Linked DNA regions of Homo sapiens: all the other regions are linked to region 3. Evidence: promoter capture Hi-C in 16 types of primary human blood cells and fetal thymus (Javierre and others, 2016). All regions are on one chromosome and are shown on one strand. Each heading gives the region's core, a stretch centred on a gene start or on the middle of the fragment in contact. The rest is flanking DNA. Distances are from core to core; before and after follow the strand shown.

Region 1 (3,713 bases), core at 624-3,123, 2.7 Mb after region 3:
TTCTCCGAGCCCCTGTGATATAAATCTCTTACCAAGCCTTTTGTCAGTTTCACAACCCAGAACTGTCTATCTCCGGACCCTGGGAACCATCTCTTTGCAACACAATCGTCACAGAAGTACCGTCCCTTTCTCCCAGCCTCTGCTACAAGGTGGGAGCCTGACTTTGGTGAGTGCATTGCTCCAAGTTGTTGGACTCCCTCCTGTCATAAGGTGAAAATGTTTACTTTTCTTGAGTAAAATCAATTGACAAACACAGATGGCCCATGATCTCCTTCACACTCCAGCACTTGAAGTCCTTCCTGCCTTTTGTTTCAGCAAAGTTCAGCTCTGACTGAGTCCTGGCCTCGCTCCTCTATTGCAATGGCCTTGAATAAACTCTTTCTTCCCTACTTAATTTGGTGCAAATTTGTTTTTGAAATTCTGATGATTTTTTAAAATAATTCTCACCAGAGAAGTTGTGGTTGTGCTGGGGATAAAGTCCACTGAGCTCCTTACTCATCATTCCAGAAGTCTCCACTCTTGGGATGCGACGTGCACACTTGACTGAGGGAGTCTCCAAGATTGTTTAGCCCCCCTCCATCCTCAACGCCTAGCACAAAGTAGGTTCATAGTAGACAGTGAATGAATGAATAATAACAACACATACAATTCATGATCCAGACACTGTGCTGGGTTCTGGGAGATTTAACGGTAAGCAAAAGAATCAGAGCTTACACCAGGCTGGGTCATGATTGTGCTCAGATCTCAGCAGAAACTTAGATGATTTTCCCTAAGAGCAATGAGAAGCCATTAAAGATTTTTTTTTTTTAACAGGAGGTGATGTTTTTCATGTATATCTTTAAATGATGTCTGTGAAATGAGCTTTTTTTATAAATGCAAGGACAGATTTTATTTTCCCTTGATGTTCTGAGCCCAAGATCCATTTCCAATTACTCTGACTCATCTTTAATTACCATCCTCCATGCAGGCGGAGAAGCCTCCATGGGCCCCATGGAGTGGGCAGAAGTGAGGGCAAGGTGGAAAAGGGCATGGGAAAGGAAACATGGCCAAAAGCTTTTTCCGTTTCACTTATTGGAAAATATATTATTGGGGGAAATGAAGATGATATGAAGCCAAAAAGCAAATATTAACGTTCAACCTACATGCCCAGGGTTTAATGAGAATTAGTCTAACAACTGGTGTCAATTTAAAAGGACTTAGAGAGCCTACTGATTAAAATATGAGGAAAAGTTATTCTGTTCCTGAGCCAGACATAAGTTTTGTTTTGTTTGTTTCGGTTTTTTGTTTTTTTTGGCGGAGGGGATATCATTTTTTTTTTTTTTTTTTATGAGATGGGTAGAGGAAAGGAGATTCGGAACAAAAGCAACCCCCAGCCTCCTGATGGAGAAGCAAGAGTAAAACCTCCTGGCTTAGAAGCTGTTAATAAATACCACACATATATACAAAGGGACGCAGGGAGTGGTGCTACCAGTATGGGGCTGGGGGCAAATCTCCTGGTATCCTGTAGATTAGGTCACTGAACCGTGTGTCCTGGAGCAACTGAGGTGCCCTTTCTGAGCCTCAGTTTTCTCATTGGTAAAATAAAGTGATTGAACTGATGATTTTAAGGGGAACTACCAGCTCTAAAAACACCAATGTCTCTGTAGTCTAAGGAAAGAAGGAATTGATATTAGTGTTGCTGAACAGAGCAGATCTTCAGGAAACTTTAGTCAATTATTTTTACCTTTGGAAACAGTGAGTAGTAGGTCATTTCCCTCCATGACCCTGCCATTTCTCTCCCTACACCCCATCTGTCAAATGACTATGCCTGTAATATTCTCTTTGGAATAAGCTAATTCATTGAAATAAAAGTAAATAAAGAGGAACAATAAAAAGATAACAGAGGGGAATTGATGCTGGCAGTGTGGTATTTCTCTAAGAACAAAGACTTTGGCCCAGACTCCCTGACGTTAAGTGCTGGTGTCCTGGTCTCCCTGTCAGCTGTGTGTTGTCGGCAAATTACTCTCCAAGTTTCTGTTTCTGCATCAATAAAATGGAAGTAATATTCATACGTATTTCATGGGGTTTTGAGGACTATATGGCATGATGCCTGTGTTTAAAGAAATAGACTAAGAGAGTGAAACAAGAATGGTATTGATAGAAATTTTACTAGCAACAGGAGGCCCCATCCCTTCAGGAACCAAAGCCCTGGGAGATCAGAGTCAGTGGGGGAGAAGTAGAATACATTCTTTAAAACTAAAGTCCCTGCATGCTACCTTTGATCCACTTTAGCAAAGCACCAATCTCTTAGTGTTGTTGGTTACCTAGCCATGTCTGGGCTGATTATTTGACAGGCACTGGGCCAGCAATTGCATGCACCAGGCGTCCCACCGGGGATTTTGGTATCCAACTGCCTTTGACTGGTTAGAGATGGGTTTGTGGTGCTACGTCAGCTTTTCACCATTTTCAGCAAGCTGTGTCACATGCATGGTGCTAGGCAGAGTTCTTAGCATGTAATAATATCAGTTTTTATAACTAATATCACTTAAAAATGTACACACAATAAAAACACTCAACACTAGATCATAGTTGTTCTTAGAATTATGCAATGTGCCCTGACAGTCCCCTGCTCTAGCGGCTGGCATTCAGCCTGCTCCCATATGGCCATCAGAATTGACCCAGCAATGGTCAGACTGATGCCATCCATCATGTCCTAAGCTTTTAGCGTCGATTTGCTGTGCACTTTAGAGTTTTATTGCATATTAAGCATTTTATTGCATAAGCTCTGTAACGTGGATTTGCGACCTATAATATCCATTCACTCGTCCTATTCCAGTTCAGAAAATTGTGCTTATGATGCTCTTCTAATTTCACATGCAGCCAGGACCTACCCCAAAGCCTCCCTCCTCCCTCAGCATAAGGCAGCCCTCGTCAGTCCCCAGACGCATTCCTGCACACCTGTACCCGTGCCTTTGCACAGGCTGTTTGCTTTGCCTGCTCCTCCTCCCTCCATCCTCTATCTGGAAAACTCTGGATCTTTGTTCACAATCCAGCCAAATCTCCCCCTCATTATAACTCCCCCACCCCACCTCCCCTAAGCATCATTGCTCCTTGCCTCTATATCCCTAGAGCTCTTTGCACATTATATCACCTTGCATTATCTTTGGGTCCCAGTTTCTCTACAGGAATAATGGGAAAGTAACAAAGAAGCATTCATATTTACAGAATAGCTCAAGAGGCAAGAATGTCAACAATGTTTCACACATGTAAAGACTTTGGAGACTTGTCTGAGTAGGGAATGATGTTCAGGGGAGTCTGGAGGGCGTCCTCCTAAGGCACAGTAGTTTTCTGAGTCTGCAGATGGAGACTCCAGTTCCCTCAAGTGGGGGTGGAGACAGGGGAAGGGGTTACAATGTGTCTTTGTTTACACAAGCACAAAACTGTTGCTCACCCATCCTCAGTGTTAATACAATGCCAAGCTGGCAACTGTTTTGCAAAGTTGACAGCTGTCTGTGAGGTTTGAATGAAATAGTATTTTACGCAATATTTTTAATGGGCGGGGGGGGGGTGGGCATTGCAGACCTAAAAGGGGTAGATTTGGGGGATAAATTTGCCTTACCTGCTTATTTCTATGCAAATGTCTGTCTTTTTTCATTCTCTGACTCTGTCCATGATCTTGGAGCAACTGGATCAGGCAACCTTAGCACCCCTCCGGGAATCCCATGGGGACAGAT
Region 2 (4,011 bases), core at 117-2,616, 2.0 Mb after region 3:
TGTTCAAATGTTACCATGTTAGCGAGGCCATCCCCATCTATCCCACCCAAACTGTTCCACTTCCCCACCTGGCAGTTGTTAGCATCCTTGGCTCCTGACAATGGAAGTCCATGACAGCAGGGGCCATTGAGAAAGCAGATGCACAGGGGAGGAAGGGTTTTTAGTGGGAACAGTCTGGTCATGAGTGCAAGGTGAAGATAAAATGGAAGAGGGAGGCTGAATAAATTTACACAAGTCCTCACTTATCACTATGAAGAGTTTGAACCTTGCTAGGAGTGCAATGAGAATTTACTGAAGAGCTTTAGGCAAATGAATGGCATAATATGATTTGCATATTAAACAGATTGTGCTGGTACAGGTGGAAAATGGATCAGAATGTGCAATATGCAAGGACATTACTTAAGAAATTCTGGAAAGTTGAGCTTTAAGCATGTCTAAGCCCACCAGATTCTATTAATACCTCAAGTCCAGGTGGTGAGATGTTGAAACATTTCAAGTCAGACAAATAGAAATGATGAAGGATGGCAATAGGATACTTTGTCTTTGGGAAGTGGAAACTAGAATGAGCTAGGGGGAAAGCAATAGAGGTTTAGAGGACCAAAACTTCCCCTAAGCTTAATTTTAATTAATTCATATTAGATATTTTCTTGAGGGAGCAAGGGAACTCCAGCAGAAACACAGTCCAAGTAGTTAATGCCAAAATCTGGCCCCATGGTCAAGACTTGGTGAGTTTAAACAGTAATTCAGCCAGTAATGAAAGCAGACAGAAGTACTAATCCAATGAAAGAAGACGGATATAGTTTCAGATTTTCCATTTGTAATAGAGAGTGATATAGTTCACCCAGGGAAAGTTAATTCTGCCTAGGAGTGACCATGAGTCTTAGAATGAGAAATAAAATCACATACGTAGCAAGAGTTTGTTACTGCAAGAAGAGTAGCAGTCAAGGAGAAAAATCAGAGTCAACTAGAAGGATTAAGATTTTGGCTTCTATTTGTTATTCTGGACACTGAACACGGGGTGTAGGGGTAAGAAATAGGTAGTATTTTAAGTGCCTTGTATTTTAACATTGTGTGTCTCCATGTAGTTGGGCCAAAGGAGAATATGTGTTCCAATGAACTGTGCTTGTCTGAGCTTGTCAAAAATCAAAAGAGAAACATGATGATATGTGAGGGCAGGATGGTTACTTGGAATAGTTTCAGCTTTTCTTGATAGAAAAAGCCTCTTGTGACCAGGAGCCTGATGTCTGTGGCCCCAGGTCTGCTTCAGCTTATGTGTTGTTAAGAAGTCTTTATGCCTTCCTGTGTCTGAAAAGCTACCATCTGTAAGAGTCAATAGGTTATTTCAGTAAAAACACAGAGACCAAAGAGAGGTACAATAAGTGAACATTTGGGAAGAGAAGAGTTGCACTTATCACAAGGAATGTCCTTCCAAATAAGAGCTAATTGTGAAAAATGTTAGTTTTTCTTCTGTTACTGGAAGTTTCATATAACTGAGTGACTGTTGCAGAGAATGTTACAGATGGTATTAAACTATCAGATTGCTGAGCTGGAATTCATTAATTTAAGATGATCTTAAGGCTCTAGTTGTGTATATTTTCTCATTTAATTTGTTTATTTGCACATTCAACCAATATTTATTAAGGACCCTCACTTAATCAGATTAGGATGCTGTAACAAACTACCATAGGCTGGGTGGCTTAAATAATAGAAATGCATTTCTCTCTGTTCTGGAGGCTGGGAAGTCCAAGATCAAGGTGTAGGCAGATTTGGTGTCTGTTGAAAGCTGTCTTCCTGGCTTATAGACAGCAGGCTTCCTAATGTGTGCTCACATGGCCTTTCTTTGGCTTTATTCTTACAGAAAGAGGGAGGGAGAGACAGAGAGAGAGAGGGAGAGAGAGAGCATCTTTCTTTTTTTGTAAGGACATTAATTCTATCATTGAACCCCTACCATCATGACAGAATCTAACCTAAATTATCTCCCAAAGGCCTCATCACCAAATACTATCACACTGGAAATAGAGACTTCAACATATGAATTTTTGGGGGACAAGAACATTTAGTTTGTGGTAGGCCCATGTATACTTTATATTTTTGCCAAACTTTAAAGATACAAAGAATTAAGCTTCACTCCATCTCTCTAGCCAACACCCTTGGGCTTGTTGAGCTTGGGATGTCTGTAAAGCAACCAAATATTATGCAGGCATTCAGACACTTGATTCTAAGGTTTGGAAAGATGGAACGGGGAGACTTGTGAATTGTCAGTACATAGATGCCCAATATGCCATGGGAGCATATGATACCACCTAAGGGTTGGGTGGAGAGAGAAAAGACATAGAAAGAGAGAGGAAGTACAATAACTGAACTTCAGAAAATGCAAAATCAGGACATTGAGGTGATGTAAGTTGAACTATTGAGAGGACCCCTGTAGCAGAAACGAGGAGACAACAGAGCAAGGGATGACCAGAGAGAGTGGGAGAGAGAGACTAGGAAATAAGTGAAGAACATTTTGAATCAGAAGGTAGTAGAGAGCTTTCTTGACAGGGATTCTGATAGTTTGAGTGAAATGAGGACTAAATATTGACCACTGAATTTGGAAACATTCAGATTAACTATGACTTTGACCAAAACTGCTTCTGTGGAATGGTAAGGGCAAATGCCTGAGTGCTTGACTGGCTTGGGTTTAAGGGAAATAGAAGTAACGAGGGAAAAGGAATATAAACTACTCTGTGAGGAACTTTGTGGTAAAAGCAAGTGAAGAAGTTAGGCATCAGCTGGAAAGATGTGGGAAAATAGCACAGATATTGTGAGATGGTAAATATTTTAGGATGTTTTTATGAATACAGAAAAGTTGCATTACAAGAAAATAGCAGGCAAGAAAAAGACAGGTAAATTGCAGAAGTAGTGTCCTTAAGTACACGTGATGCAATGGGATCCATTACACAAGTGGAACCTTAGAGTTAAATGCAAGCACAGGCATTTCATTAATTACAATAAAAATTAAAGCAGTATACATGCATTTTTACGTAAAGATTCTAGGATTTAGTGGTGAGAACATGTAGAATTTTTCAGGTTGTTTCTATTTTCCAGGGAAGAATAGAAGCAGCATCTTCAAACCCAAATTATGCTGTGGAAGAGATGTTAATATTTGAGGAGAGAGAAGGTAAAGAACAGAGGTCTTCCAGCTCAGAGATTTCCAAGTGGAGTTCTGCTAATGGATTATGAGTGTGCTATTATTGATCTCCTCAGCATTCAGGGCAGATGGGTGATTCCTAGGGTTGTCAGAGTTCCCTTTCCTCCCTCCCTTTTCTTGTATCAATTTCATCATCATTGTGTCATTGATTTTTTGTTTGTTTGTTTTAAGTTGGGAATTGTAGAGCTAGGACATTGAGAGAATGAACCGGAAAATTGGATAGAATTGCTGGGAAGATCTAAGGAGATACATGAGAACAGCCAGTAAGATTTTGTTTTTTTTTTTCCAGTTACCAAATAAGTTTGCTTCTTTTGGTATAGTCATGGAGTAAGCAGTGACTGAGACTTAATCAAGTTTACATAGAGCCACACACATCCAGTAGTTGAGAGTAATGGAGTGGGGATATGTTTTGATGCTGTGTGTAAAAGAGTGAGCAAACTGGAGCATCTGTGGCAGAGAGTGAAGGAAGTAAATAGGGCATGGGCAGGGAAAAGGTGGTATACCATTGATTAGAGGTTCAGGACAAGTCAAGAAATTATTGGAGTCAAAGTTCTAAGGGAAGTGTATTTGTCAGGGTTCTCTAGAGGGAAATAATGAATAGGATATTATATATATATAATATCCTATAATTATATATTATATATATATAGGGGAGCTTATTAAGTATTAACTCACATGATCACAAGGTGCCGCAATAGGCTGTCTACAAGGTGAGATGCAAGGAGAGCCAGTCCAAGTCCCACAATTGAAGATCTTGGAGTCCGATGTTAAACGGCAGGAGGTATCCAGCACAAGAGAAAGATGTAGGTTGGGAGGCTAAG
Region 3 (3,527 bases), core at 1,024-3,523:
ATTCTCTGTCCCCCTTTCCCCCTTTACAAGCAGCTGTCAGGGAACCCTACCATAGAATGTAAGTTCTGTGACACAGGAATATAAGCCAGAGGTGTATGCTTCCCTTCAGTTGTAAAAGGAAAAGACATTGTCCTATGAGTCCCTCCTGTTGTCCAGCAGGACTACTGGCATACCCCTGGTTTTGGGGGTGTGGACTGGGAAGCTCAGGCTCTAAGTTAATTAACAAAGTGGCATAGTGAGGCAGGTAGCAGCCAGGATGCAGGCATCCAGACTCCTGCCCTTCTGGGTGAGGGTGGTTTGGGAAGTGCCCTTTTTGTTTCTGGGGCTGAGAGGCCAGTCATAGACCTGGGATTGAGAAGAGCAGCCACAAGCAGCCTACAAGCCTGACGCTGGGCCCAGGTCAGAAACAGAGGTGCGACAGTCACAGGTCCTTCACTCAGTTGGCCAGGCCGGGGCGAAGCACCACGACCAGCAGTGAGGAGTCCACAGATGGGTGTCTGCCCAGCATCCCTGGAGTTACAGCTGAAGGGAAGGCGAGGGAGGCTCAGAAGGCCCAGAGGACAGCCTTGCAGCCGGAAAAAACCCAAAGCAAAGATCAGCTCAGCATTTCCGATAGGCAGAGTGCTGTTTTGGGTATTTCATTATGAGTTAACATATTTATTCTCATGAACTTCTTATGAAATAAGTTTGGTTGTCATCTCCACTTGACGGATGAGGACCCTGAGGTGAAGAAACTTGCCCAAGGTCACAGCTAGTGAGCAGCAGATCCATGATTCCAAATCCAGGCTGTTTAACCCCAGAGGCTTTGCTTTTAACTGTGCCATTTTTCTGCTTCTTGCAAGTTGAGACTGAAGAGAGCCATGAAGAAGACTCTTACTGGGGACTCTGAAATGACACCTTAGCCGGGGGAGGAGTGGAGCCTTGAGAGTGAGGGCAGTTGAGTACTCGGGTCTGGGACTTAGAGCTTCCAAGATTTCTACCACCTCCCACTCCCCTCGGGTTTGTAAAGCTGCCTCCATTTGCATTGGGAGTGCGGGGGGGCTGCCTGGGGGACTGTGGCGATTGTCCTCAGGCTATTGGCTGAGAGTGGTATGCCACTGACTTATTCCTCCAAGAGACATTTCCAGTACCCTCCATCCCTGCCCCCTGTACTACACACTGGTGACCTTCCCCCTCAAAAACAAAACTCAAACTCTGTCCCTGATGCTCATGGTCTACTGAAAACAGAATTACAGCTGTCTGTGAATGACCTCTGACCAAGCTGGGGGGACACAGAGAAGGGACTTGTGACTTGCTTTGCCAGGGAGGTCCTGAGAGGCTGTCCAGGGAAGGTGACATTGAGGCCGGGACTTGAGCTGGCTGTTTGAAGGCAGGAAAAATGGCAGGGCAAGGACTGGAGTCCTTCGCCTTCCTGGGGGACGTTTATTCCACATGCCTCGGGAAATCTGAAATGGCCTTGGAGAGCATTTGCTGGGGGTTGGGGGTGGGCGGAAGGGGACAGAGAGCATTGCCACCGACAGGCGGGGCGTCCCAGGGCCTCTCCCCAGGAGCGGATGAGCTCAGACGCGGCTCACTCAGCTGTGTCCAGGCACAGCCGGTTTATGACCTAAGAGAATGACAACCCAGGAGCAAGTCGGGATGACAAAGACGCCCAGAAGGGCACGCGCTTTTATGTAACCGACCTCTGAGCTGGCGGATCTCAGGAGGTTGGCGCTCTGAGCTCAGGCGCGGAGAAAGGACGGCGCCCCTGCCTTACTCTCTTATAAGTACGAGGGGACAGCAACGCGACATAACTTAGAGAAGTCCAGGAAGCTTTAGAGAGCAGGGCGGTCCCGCTGCTATTCCTCAGAGCGCGACTGGGGCGAACTGGGGCGCCCTTCCCAGCTCCAGCTCGGCCCTTGTCCCCTCTTCCCAGGATCACTCGCTGGGTGACCTTGGGCGAGCCACTTGACTTCTCTGAGCCCCAGTTTCCCAGTCCGTGCATCTGAAAGGCTGTAATAGCGTCGTGGGGCTCCCCACTCGGCCCTCAGGGCCAAAGGTGGGCGCCGGACACGCGGGAGGGGCCCTTGGACGCACCCCCTCTCGCAAACGCCCGGTTAGTCCCGGCGGACTCGCAGTGGAGAGCGGCCCCAGGAGGCGGCGGGCGGCGGGGCGGTGGGCGCCAGTGCGCAGGCGCGGCGCGGCAGGGCGGGGCGGCGGGCGCGGGGCGGGGCGGGGCGGAGCCGGGCGGGGCGGGGCCGGCGGCAGGCGCTGGGCGCTCGGCGCGGTGGCTCAGAGTGCGCGGGGCGGCGCGCGGCGTGCAGGTCGCAGCTGTGGCTCGGGTGCTGGCAGGTGCTGGCGGGACTGGCGGGGATCGCCGTGGACTGCCTCAGGGGCGCCGCAGCCCGCTCGGCCCGAGGGCCCGCCTAACCGCGCCGCCCGCGCCCGCTCCTCCTCGGCCCGCGCCCGGAGCGCGGGGGCCGCCGGCGCTGGGTACTCGGCGGCCACCGGGGATCGGGGCTGAGCGGTCGGTTCCCGCCCCCGTGCCGCCGCCGCCGCCTTCCGGCCGACCGCCCGGCTTGGCCGCTGCTGCCGCGTCTGGCCCCCGGGTCCCCGCCGCTGGGGGCGCGGGCGGGGTCGGGGGTTGCCGGGCGCCGCCCCCCGTGCGCCTGGAGTCCACATCCCGGGCCCGGCGGCCGGCGAGCATGGAGGAGAAGTACCTGCCCGAGCTGATGGCGGAGAAGGACTCCCTGGACCCCTCCTTCACGCACGCCCTGCGCCTGGTGAACCAAGGTGAGGCGCCGGCCGTTAACTGCCGGCCGGCGGCGGTTGGGGGCCGGGTGGAAACGCGGGGGCCCAGGGGGCCCCTCCGTGCCCTCTGCTGTCAGCGGACGCGGCGGAGACGGAGGCCCGGGTGGCCCCCGGGGTCGTTTGCACGGGGACCTGGGAGGCTGTGGGACACCTAGGGGAAGACCCTGATGTGAATTTTGGGGACTTGGAAGGAGAAGGCTGGGGCGCATGGGTGAGACTTGAAGGAAATCTTTGGGGACTCGGGCACACCCAGGGGAAACTTCTGGGTGGGGGACAGCGACCATCTGGGGGCTTCGTTGGGAACGAGGTTGAATTATGTCATGGAAGGGGAGCGTGTTGGACTCGGGGAAGTAGGGCGTTTGGTTTGTCTAAGGTACTGGAGAAAAAGCTGGAGGAAAATGGAAGGACTTGAGGGACTCAAATGCAGAAGAGGTGAAGGGAACAGGTGCTTGCATTGTTAGCGAAGTTTGGGGACCTTGGAAGAGGGTTGGGGTCAGACCCCAGCACCTGAGAGGAGAGGAGCTCCGTGGTCCCAGGGGAGGAGCCCAGTTCCCCCTCCCAGCCCTTTGTCTCTCCTGTGTCCAGGCTCCAACAGCCCTGGCGGGGCAGTCAGCCCTCCCAGGGGATGGGCAGCCCATGCCAAGCCTTGCAGGCTGGCCCTTGGAGAAGTCAGTAGGGGAGAAGAGGCCGGCAAAAGAGCACCGTTCCGGAGGGCGTTGGGTTGGGTGACCCTCATT
Region 4 (3,805 bases), core at 331-2,830, 2.0 Mb after region 3:
TGGGTTCAAGCGATTCTCCAGCCTCAGCCTCCTGAATAGCTGGGACTACAGGGGCATGCCACCACACCCAGATAATTTTTGTATTTTTAGTAGGGAAGGGGTTTCACCATGTTGACCAGGCTGGTTTCTAACTCCTGGCCTCAGGTGATCCACCCGCCTCAGCCTCCCAAAGTGCTAGGATTACAGGTACGAGCCACCGTGCCCAGCCATAGTTTTATTTATAAACTGACATCACCAATGTATAAAGTAGAAAAGGAAAATGTTGAATTCATAATGAAGGGCTTGTAATGGGTACTATAATGATATGCTTTTGAATTACCCTATTTGTTGACTTTATATGTTTATGATACAAAGCTCCCGCTTTGCCTTATTTCCTGCTGTGAAATTCAAACTTATTTGCAGAAAAAATAAAGAAAAAAATTTCCCAAGAATATTAATGTATTCAGTAAAAGCCTGAGCATTTCCTATGAAGTACACAATTATTCCTAGAACAGAATCTTGACCAGAGAGCTCTCCTCGAATTTTGCAGGAGTCTTCCTCTCATTTGGACATCAGCTTTCCTGCCGTCTTTGGCCTTGGCACATGTGGGAGTGTGTGTATGTGCAGGGAAACTGTGTCATTCAGTGCCATTCCCAAAGACTTCCAAAGACCCAACAGAGATTTCAAATAGTTCTTTTTGTCTAGTTCTGTTATGAACATGGAATTTTGAATCTGCAGAAAGCAAATTTGAGACTCATTTAAAATTTAATAAATAACCATAATATATTAAAAGTCAAATTATAATAGTGTGATGTTATTGAATTAGGGCAAATACATGACACTGTGAAATCCTTAATAAATTATGCATGAGGCATTCTGAATTGTTTACCTCAATTTGGACAATTTTAGAGATTAAAGAGTACTGTGTAATTTAGTTTGTAGTTTTAGGGCATAATGGGGAGAAGAGAAACATAGCTTGTATTTGTTCCAGCTTATTTTTGTATTAGTGTCTTACTTCACAATTGTGTTTGAAAACATTTATTTATTTACTTTACATTAATATTGCTTATCGTTCAATGTTTTCAGAAGTAAATCAACTTCAATAGAAGTTAAAAATGAAAGCTTCTTTTGGAAATAAATGTGGTTACTCTCACAAATCTTATCTATCTCTTGACTCTTTGTAAGACAATTGTCTACTCATACATTTATTTTCAAAATCATCTACTTCAAGCTTTAACATCAGAGCAAAATGTTTCTTGCTCATGAAACAATGAGAAATAGTAGAGTGTGTGTGTGTGTGTGTGTGTGTGTGTGTGTGTGCGAATTTTCCCTGGAGGAAGAGTTGGATGTCTAAAATAGGCAAAATAAAACACAATAAGGTAAATGTTTTCATAGAGATACTTAATTATTTGATGGGTCTTTGCTGCATATGAGGAAAGTAAGCATCAGGGTAGAGAAATATGAACTCCCTCTGCTAAAAAGAACAGAATTGCTGGTGGGAACCTGGGAGCAGCTTAGGCATAGGGACTCAGAATTGGAAGCACAGAGATACCGTAAACAATTGCCTCAAGAAAATATATTTTCTCTTTCGTCAACTTGACTTGGTGGTAAGTTAAGATGTAAGTATCAACCCAATTTTTCAGTCCATCTGCATTCTAATATATATGTTCATGCACCAGTGAATCAGAATTACTCTTGTTCACGTTCAGAGCTGAGATGTGTCCCAGCTTTGTGTTCTGATTCACCAGGTATTAGCACTTCTCTGTCAGCAATATCAGTGTGCTTCTCTGAGGGGTGTACTGCACCAGGAGTTTTGCCCTGGTCCTCTCCTAAGGAGAGAACATAGTTTTATGGTACAAAATTATCTCAAGAGGGCTGGTAATTGTAGTCTTCCTGTGTGCATAGGAAACGGGGAAAAAAACACAAAATGATAAATAGTATCAATCTCTGCCATACCCAGTCCCTTCAGTTTGAAGCTTTGATGCCTCATTTGGCAGAGCCAATATTGTATGCCCATCAAATTATTTCCTTTTTGTCCTTAACAAATAAGAAGACTACATTTCTCAGAACTCTTACATTTTCTTGGGATAATATGATGAAGTCTGGCCAATGAACATGGACAGGCATCATGTACACCACAAAACTCTCCAGAGAGATCACTGATATCTCTCTCTCTCTCCCCCAACTCCCTGAGTTACGGTAAAGGCAGTCTGAAGATTTAAGCCACTATAAGTAAATTTCTCAAGGCTCTTTCTAAAATGCTACAGATGGCCCTTCATAGTGAGTGGATTTGGCATTGAAAACAGAGAAAGGCAAAACTTCGCTAAGCACACATCCAGTGATGTAAATTCATCACAGTCTACTGATAATCTAAGAAACAACAGCAACAACAACTCATCCTCGTGTCCTCATTCATTCCTGTGTTCATTGCAACTGATACAATCCATGATACCTTTTAGGCTCTGGGTAAATATTTTGGTGAAAGGCAAAGGCAGTCTAGATAGAAAAAAATAAAAGGCTCACTCTTGAGCAGATGTTATTTTGGAGGATAAAAAAAAGTAGAGAGATATCATCTCTGTATTTTTACAAAGGTTTTTTTTTTAAAAAACAAAGGTTATTTCTGCCTTTCCTATTTGTGAGTCAGCAAGAGTTGGTTGGTCTAGTTGAACACGTCTCCAGGCTGTGAATTAGAACCACGTCTGGCCCACTTCTCTTATTCTTCTGGGCTGAAGGGAAAATGTTGCATAACTTTTTCATGGCAGTGACAGAAGTAAAAAGCAGCAGGTGAAATCTCACAAACACATTTTAAGCCCCCACTTGCATCATGTTTGCAATGACACATTGGCCAAGTTCAAAGCCATAGACAAAAGAAGTAGCCTTCACCTGCTACCAGACCATGGCAAGGAGGTGGATGTATAATGCTTCATGTTATAGGAGAGTTAAGAATGGTGACTAGGCCAGGCGCGGTGGCTCATGCCAGTAATCCCAGCACTTTCAGAGGCCGAGGCAGGTGGATCATGAGGTTAGGAGATCGAGACCATCCTGGCCAACATGGTAAAACCCTGTCTCTACTAAAAATACAAAAAAAAAAAAAATTAGCTGGGCATGGTGGTGGGCGCCTGTAGTCCCAGCTACTTGGGAGGCTGAGGCAGGAGAATCGCTTGAACCCAGGAGGCGGAGGTTGCAGTGAGCTGAGATCGCACCACTGCACTCCAGCCTGGGTGACAGAGTGAGGTTCTGTCCCAAAAAAAAAAAAAAAGAAAGAAAAAGGAAAAGGATGATGATCAATAAGTTAATCTACAGTATGTATTGAGAACTTAATTTATAAAACAAAATATCAAAGAATGGAAGGTATTGGGAAATAGAATAAGACAGTAATAAGAAAAAAAAAACAAAAAAAGAATCAGATGGTGAAATGTGGCTTCACTCTTTATTATCTTTGTTTTCTCAGAAAATTTATTTAACTCAATTTCTTCACTTAAACAATAAAAGACTTAATAATCTAGACTTAAAAAAATAGTTTTAACACTTAAAGTTCCTGACACATAGCAGAGGTTTGATAGTTGTTAGTTCCCCAAACATAGCACTGAGAAGCAAATCTATATTTGACTCCAAATTTCAGTCTTTTAACCAGGATGCAAAATTCATGCACTTGATGAGCCCATCATTATTGATAGGGCCAGCCTCATTCATGTTTTTTTTTTTTTTTTTTTTTTTTTGAGACAGATCTCACTCTGTCGCCCAGGCTGGAGTGCAGTGGTGTGATCTCGGCTCGCTGCAACCTCCCCATCCCTGGTTCAAGCAATTCTCCTGCTTTGGTCTCCCA
Region 5 (3,858 bases), core at 15-2,514, 2.4 Mb after region 3:
GTCAATATTGAGGTTCTCTATCACACTGGAAAGAAACAGACCTCAGACAACGGATTACTAACCACACTTCACTGAAAGCACCATCAGAGAAACATGTGACAAAGACATGGAGATCAATGTGCTACTCTGGAATATCTCTGCATTTCCCCAAGACTGTCCTGAAAGACCAGCAATGGAGAATAGTTGTACCAGGAGTGGAGTGGTCAGATGTGTCTGTCTTTGTCATACATTGCTAGCAATTTTGGTTGTTTCTCAATAAACATTTTTAAAATTTATTTTCCCTAAATTGTTCACTGTTCACATTCATCCATTTATCCACTTACTCAATAATTATTTTTTGAGTATCTATTCTGCGGTGAAATTAAAGACCAAAGTAGGGGATAGAGAAGTAAAGTTGAGATCACTGGGCTTTATTACTTTTTAAAGCCAGGGGATAGCAATGACGTCAGCTTGAGAATGAGTTACAATAGCAACCAGTAAAGGATAGCACTGGCTTTAAACAAAAATAAACCACCAGAATATATTTTCTGATTTATCTGTGTTTCTGATGAGGACATCCGTTTATCTATTTTAAATGAAGTGTTGCTAGATACCCACCAGTTTTCAAGAATCTAACCACTGGGTAAATAAAAGGAAAAAATGGGAAATTCTGACACAAGAGTGAAATATGAATGAGTGAACATAGAGAGCTATGAGGTTCTCATACTGTAGATGGTGTTTCTGTTGATCTTGGTTGCATTAGAACACATCTGCTGAAGTCCAGGGTCACCTTTGCTGAAGGTCAGTTACAGCCCATTATGAGTAAAGATATGTGGATGGAGAAATCTAGAAGAGCAGAGATAAATAGTATCTAGGTGTTTTAGGAGGCTTGAAGCATGGCATAGGAATCTGGTCACGGTGCTTTTTAAATAATGAACCATCTATCAAAAAAGCAAATGAGCTGTGGCTCCCACCTGTCATCCCATCTACTTGGGAGGCTGAGGTGGAAAGATCACTAGAGCCCAGGAGTTACAGTTCCAGACCAATTTAGACAACATAGCGAGACCACGTTTCTAAAAGAAAAGAGAGAAAGAGAGACAGAGAGAGAGAATGCCACTTGAGAAGATGAACGTCGAACACATCATATGGTTTTCAATTGATATGTGATGGTATTGAAATTAAAAATAATTGAGGAGCATATGGTCATATCAAGAATTACAAAATGTTTGTGAAAATGAGTCCCTCCAATTAATTCTTGATTCCAAAAATTGATTCCCAAAATGTAGTCACAGTAGATAAGAGATTAATAAAACATTTAGGATTCTTCACATTAAATGATCATTATTTTCTTCTCTCTCTCTCTCTCTTTTAAGAGACAGAGCCTTGCTCTGTTGCCCAGGCTGGAGTACAGTGGCATCATCATAGCTCACTGCAGTCTCAAACTCCTTGGCTCAAGGGAGCCTTCTGCCTCAGCCTCCCAAATAGCTAGAGCTATAGGTATGTGGCACCACCACACAACTACATTTTTAAACAAAATTCTTTGTAAAGACAGAGTCCTACCATCTTGTCCAGGGTGGTCTTGAACTCCTGGGCTCAAGGGATCCTCCCACCTTGGTCTCCTAAAGTGTTGGGATTACAAACATGACCCACCACATGCAGCCACAAAAGATCACTATTTTCTAAATTAGTCCAGGTTTCTAATGCTGATATTGATAGCTTCCCTTATTGAGCCCCATCAATAGTTTTTGCTTTGGCTCCTAGTACTCTAATATTTTCTTAAATCACTAGAATCCTCAGCCTCTTTATAAGTAAACTCTGTATTGTATTTAAAACACCATACTTTCTGATGCCAAAACCTTAAAGAAAGGGAAGGGGCAGGAACAGCAGAAGCAATGCATTAAGATTTCTTGATAAAGTTCCCTTCCTTACATTAAGGAAACAACTTAAGACACACGGAGAGTGGATTAATATAATTGAAACCCAGTCCATAAATTCTCTTTCACATCTTACTTTCAATGTTTAAAAGCTGTTTCTTCTCTTGAATTTAACAAGGGTTTATAACAGATGTGCATTCTAAAGAAGAGTGAGGGTTTGGATTCTCCCGGGAGTACACTTCAAATCAAGGATGCAAATGCAAGTTGTTATTTGGAAGCTGTAGAGAGCCAGGACAGGGCAGGGTGAACAGGAGGAGACAGTGAAGGATGAGTTAGCAAGTCGCTCTGGACAACTGGTGCTTAGTCCCGTGGAGAAACTATTTCATCTGAGGGCCAAGCAACTCTAAATTCATTTTTCTTCTTTTGTTCTTCCAAATGTATCCATTTTTTAATTTTACAGGTAAAATTTTAAGTATCATGTACAACATGATGTTTTGAAGTCTATATTACATTGTGGACTGGTTAAATCTTACTAATTCACATGTGCATTAACTTGCACAGCCATCATTTTTGTGGTGAGAACACTTAACATCCCTCTCTTAGCATTTTTCAAGAAATATGTCTTTATATAAAAACTCAAACCATCCCTTGCTTGAGGGCGGCTGTGGGGCCTGCCATTCTACTGGGCCTGCAGCTCTGTAGAAATCCCTGTCAAAGCAATTAAGGTGCTGGTAGTTGGAAGTCAGTCAATAAGAGTACACTGAAGTGATAAGGTCTGGGGAATAAGGGCAGGACAAGCATAACCTCTGCAACAAAATCATCTCATAAAAACACCACCACCAACGCCAACGCATCATCTGCTTGGAGCATATCCTTGATAGGATTTTTCCTGCATAACCTCTAGGCTTCCGAAGCACCCTTTGAGCAAGAAATGTTTTTCTCATTTACAGATAAGAAAGTTGTCGTAGAGGGATGAGATGTCAGTTCCAGAGGCAACAGCTGTCATGTGACAGGATTAAGTCAAAATCAAAGTTTCTATCACTGGATTCCTTAAGCTTTACATAGATAAGAAAGTGTGATAACGAAGATTATCTGTGGAGAGGATATGAGAAGAAAAAGCTGAAGCCATCACCAGAGACAATGCTGTGGCCAGTGGGTCTGTCCTGCTGAGGCACGGGTGGCTAATCTGGAGCCCTCCCCCAGGTCAGGGCCATCACGGCAAGCCAGAACCTGAAGTAGAGCACGGCCCTCTAGCGCCCTCTAGCGCCCTCCTCGACCTCTGCCTCCAGCTGGGCACTTCCCTGAAACTTCCCTAGGCCTCCTTCCAAAATACACAGGTCTCCTGTGTTTTCAAGACTTTACTGCTTTTTCAATGAGAAAGCAGTCAACAAAAACTAAAAAGCATGAGGAAGTTACAAACTTTACATAGGTTTTATAGTTGCTGTCTTTGGTTTACAATATACTAGTATTCATTGAATATAGTAAGATATTCAATTATAGGATGTGTTAGTAGTATTCAAAGTAAAAATATTTAAAGATCATGGTCTATTTGGGACAAAAAATTCCTAGGCACTTTTCTTCAATCAGCCTACAGTTCTCTCATCAGCTTTTTACAATGGTGAAGCAGGACCTGTTAGCAGAACCATGCCCTCCAATTTAGATCCTAATTTTGCCCCACTCCATGCCAAAGCCTGTGGGAAAGTAGATCACACCCTTTAGAAATAAGTGGCAGAAAGTTACCCTGTATCATTTCATACCAACAGAATACTTCATTTTTGAAATTTTATTTTACCCTACTTACAAAGAGCTCACCTGTTACCATTTCCTGAAGGTTGACCTAAGACATAAGACGTCTGGTGGAACTCAAAGGACCTTATTACTCATCGTAAAGCAAGCAACATTGTCATCAGCATATTAGCCTTGGTTTCCACTGTTCCCAATCCCAAGGGAGAGGGAAGCATAATATGGCCCAGATAAATGCCTCACATCGGTGGGTTTGCGTCAC

Evidence for each region. Contacts are between HindIII fragments. The CHiCAGO score rates a contact against its expected background, and 5 or more counts as called.
Region 1: a contact is called between a fragment that was not itself captured here and the fragment with the promoter of KHDRBS3 in region 3, in 1 of 17 cell types (M2 macrophages). The highest score is 8.7, in M2 macrophages.
Region 2: a contact is called between a fragment that was not itself captured here and the fragment with the promoter of KHDRBS3 in region 3, in 1 of 17 cell types (M2 macrophages). The highest score is 7.3, in M2 macrophages.
Region 4: a fragment that was not itself captured here is called in contact with the fragment with the promoter of KHDRBS3 in region 3 in 1 of 17 cell types (endothelial precursors); the score reaches 5.0 in endothelial precursors.
Region 5: a contact is called between a fragment that was not itself captured here and the fragment with the promoter of KHDRBS3 in region 3, in 1 of 17 cell types (M2 macrophages). The highest score is 6.4, in M2 macrophages.

The regions. Positions count from the first base shown.
Region 1 is chr8:138,109,475-138,113,187 of GRCh38, forward strand. No RefSeq gene overlaps it. Among named protein-coding and RNA genes, the nearest start is that of FAM135B, 390 kb to the right of the region's middle. The HindIII fragment of the contact is 1,644 bases long and covers 1,052-2,695 here.
Region 2 is chr8:137,478,991-137,483,001 of GRCh38, forward strand. No RefSeq gene overlaps it. Among named protein-coding and RNA genes, the nearest start is that of LINC02055, 950 kb to the left of the region's middle. The HindIII fragment of the contact is 1,508 bases long and covers 613-2,120 here.
Region 3 is chr8:135,455,183-135,458,709 of GRCh38, forward strand. KHDRBS3 (KH RNA binding domain containing, signal transduction associated 3) reads left to right here and starts at 2,274. Exons shown (of 9, transcript NM_006558.3): 1 at 2,274-2,772. The coding sequence starts at 2,685. LOC101927872 (a long non-coding RNA gene) reads right to left here and starts at 2,793. Exons shown (of 4, transcript XR_002956731.2): 1 at 2,700-2,793. RefSeq lists a silencer at 2,146-2,445. The HindIII fragment of the contact is 3,136 bases long and covers 1,811-3,527 here.
Region 4 is chr8:137,500,937-137,504,741 of GRCh38, forward strand. No RefSeq gene overlaps it. Among named protein-coding and RNA genes, the nearest start is that of LINC02055, 970 kb to the left of the region's middle. The HindIII fragment of the contact is 745 bases long and covers 1,209-1,953 here.
Region 5 is chr8:137,840,297-137,844,154 of GRCh38, forward strand. All of the region lies in intron 2 of LOC401478 (a long non-coding RNA gene), which reads right to left. Among named protein-coding and RNA genes, the nearest start is that of FAM135B, 660 kb to the right of the region's middle. The HindIII fragment of the contact is 3,283 bases long and covers 1-2,906 here.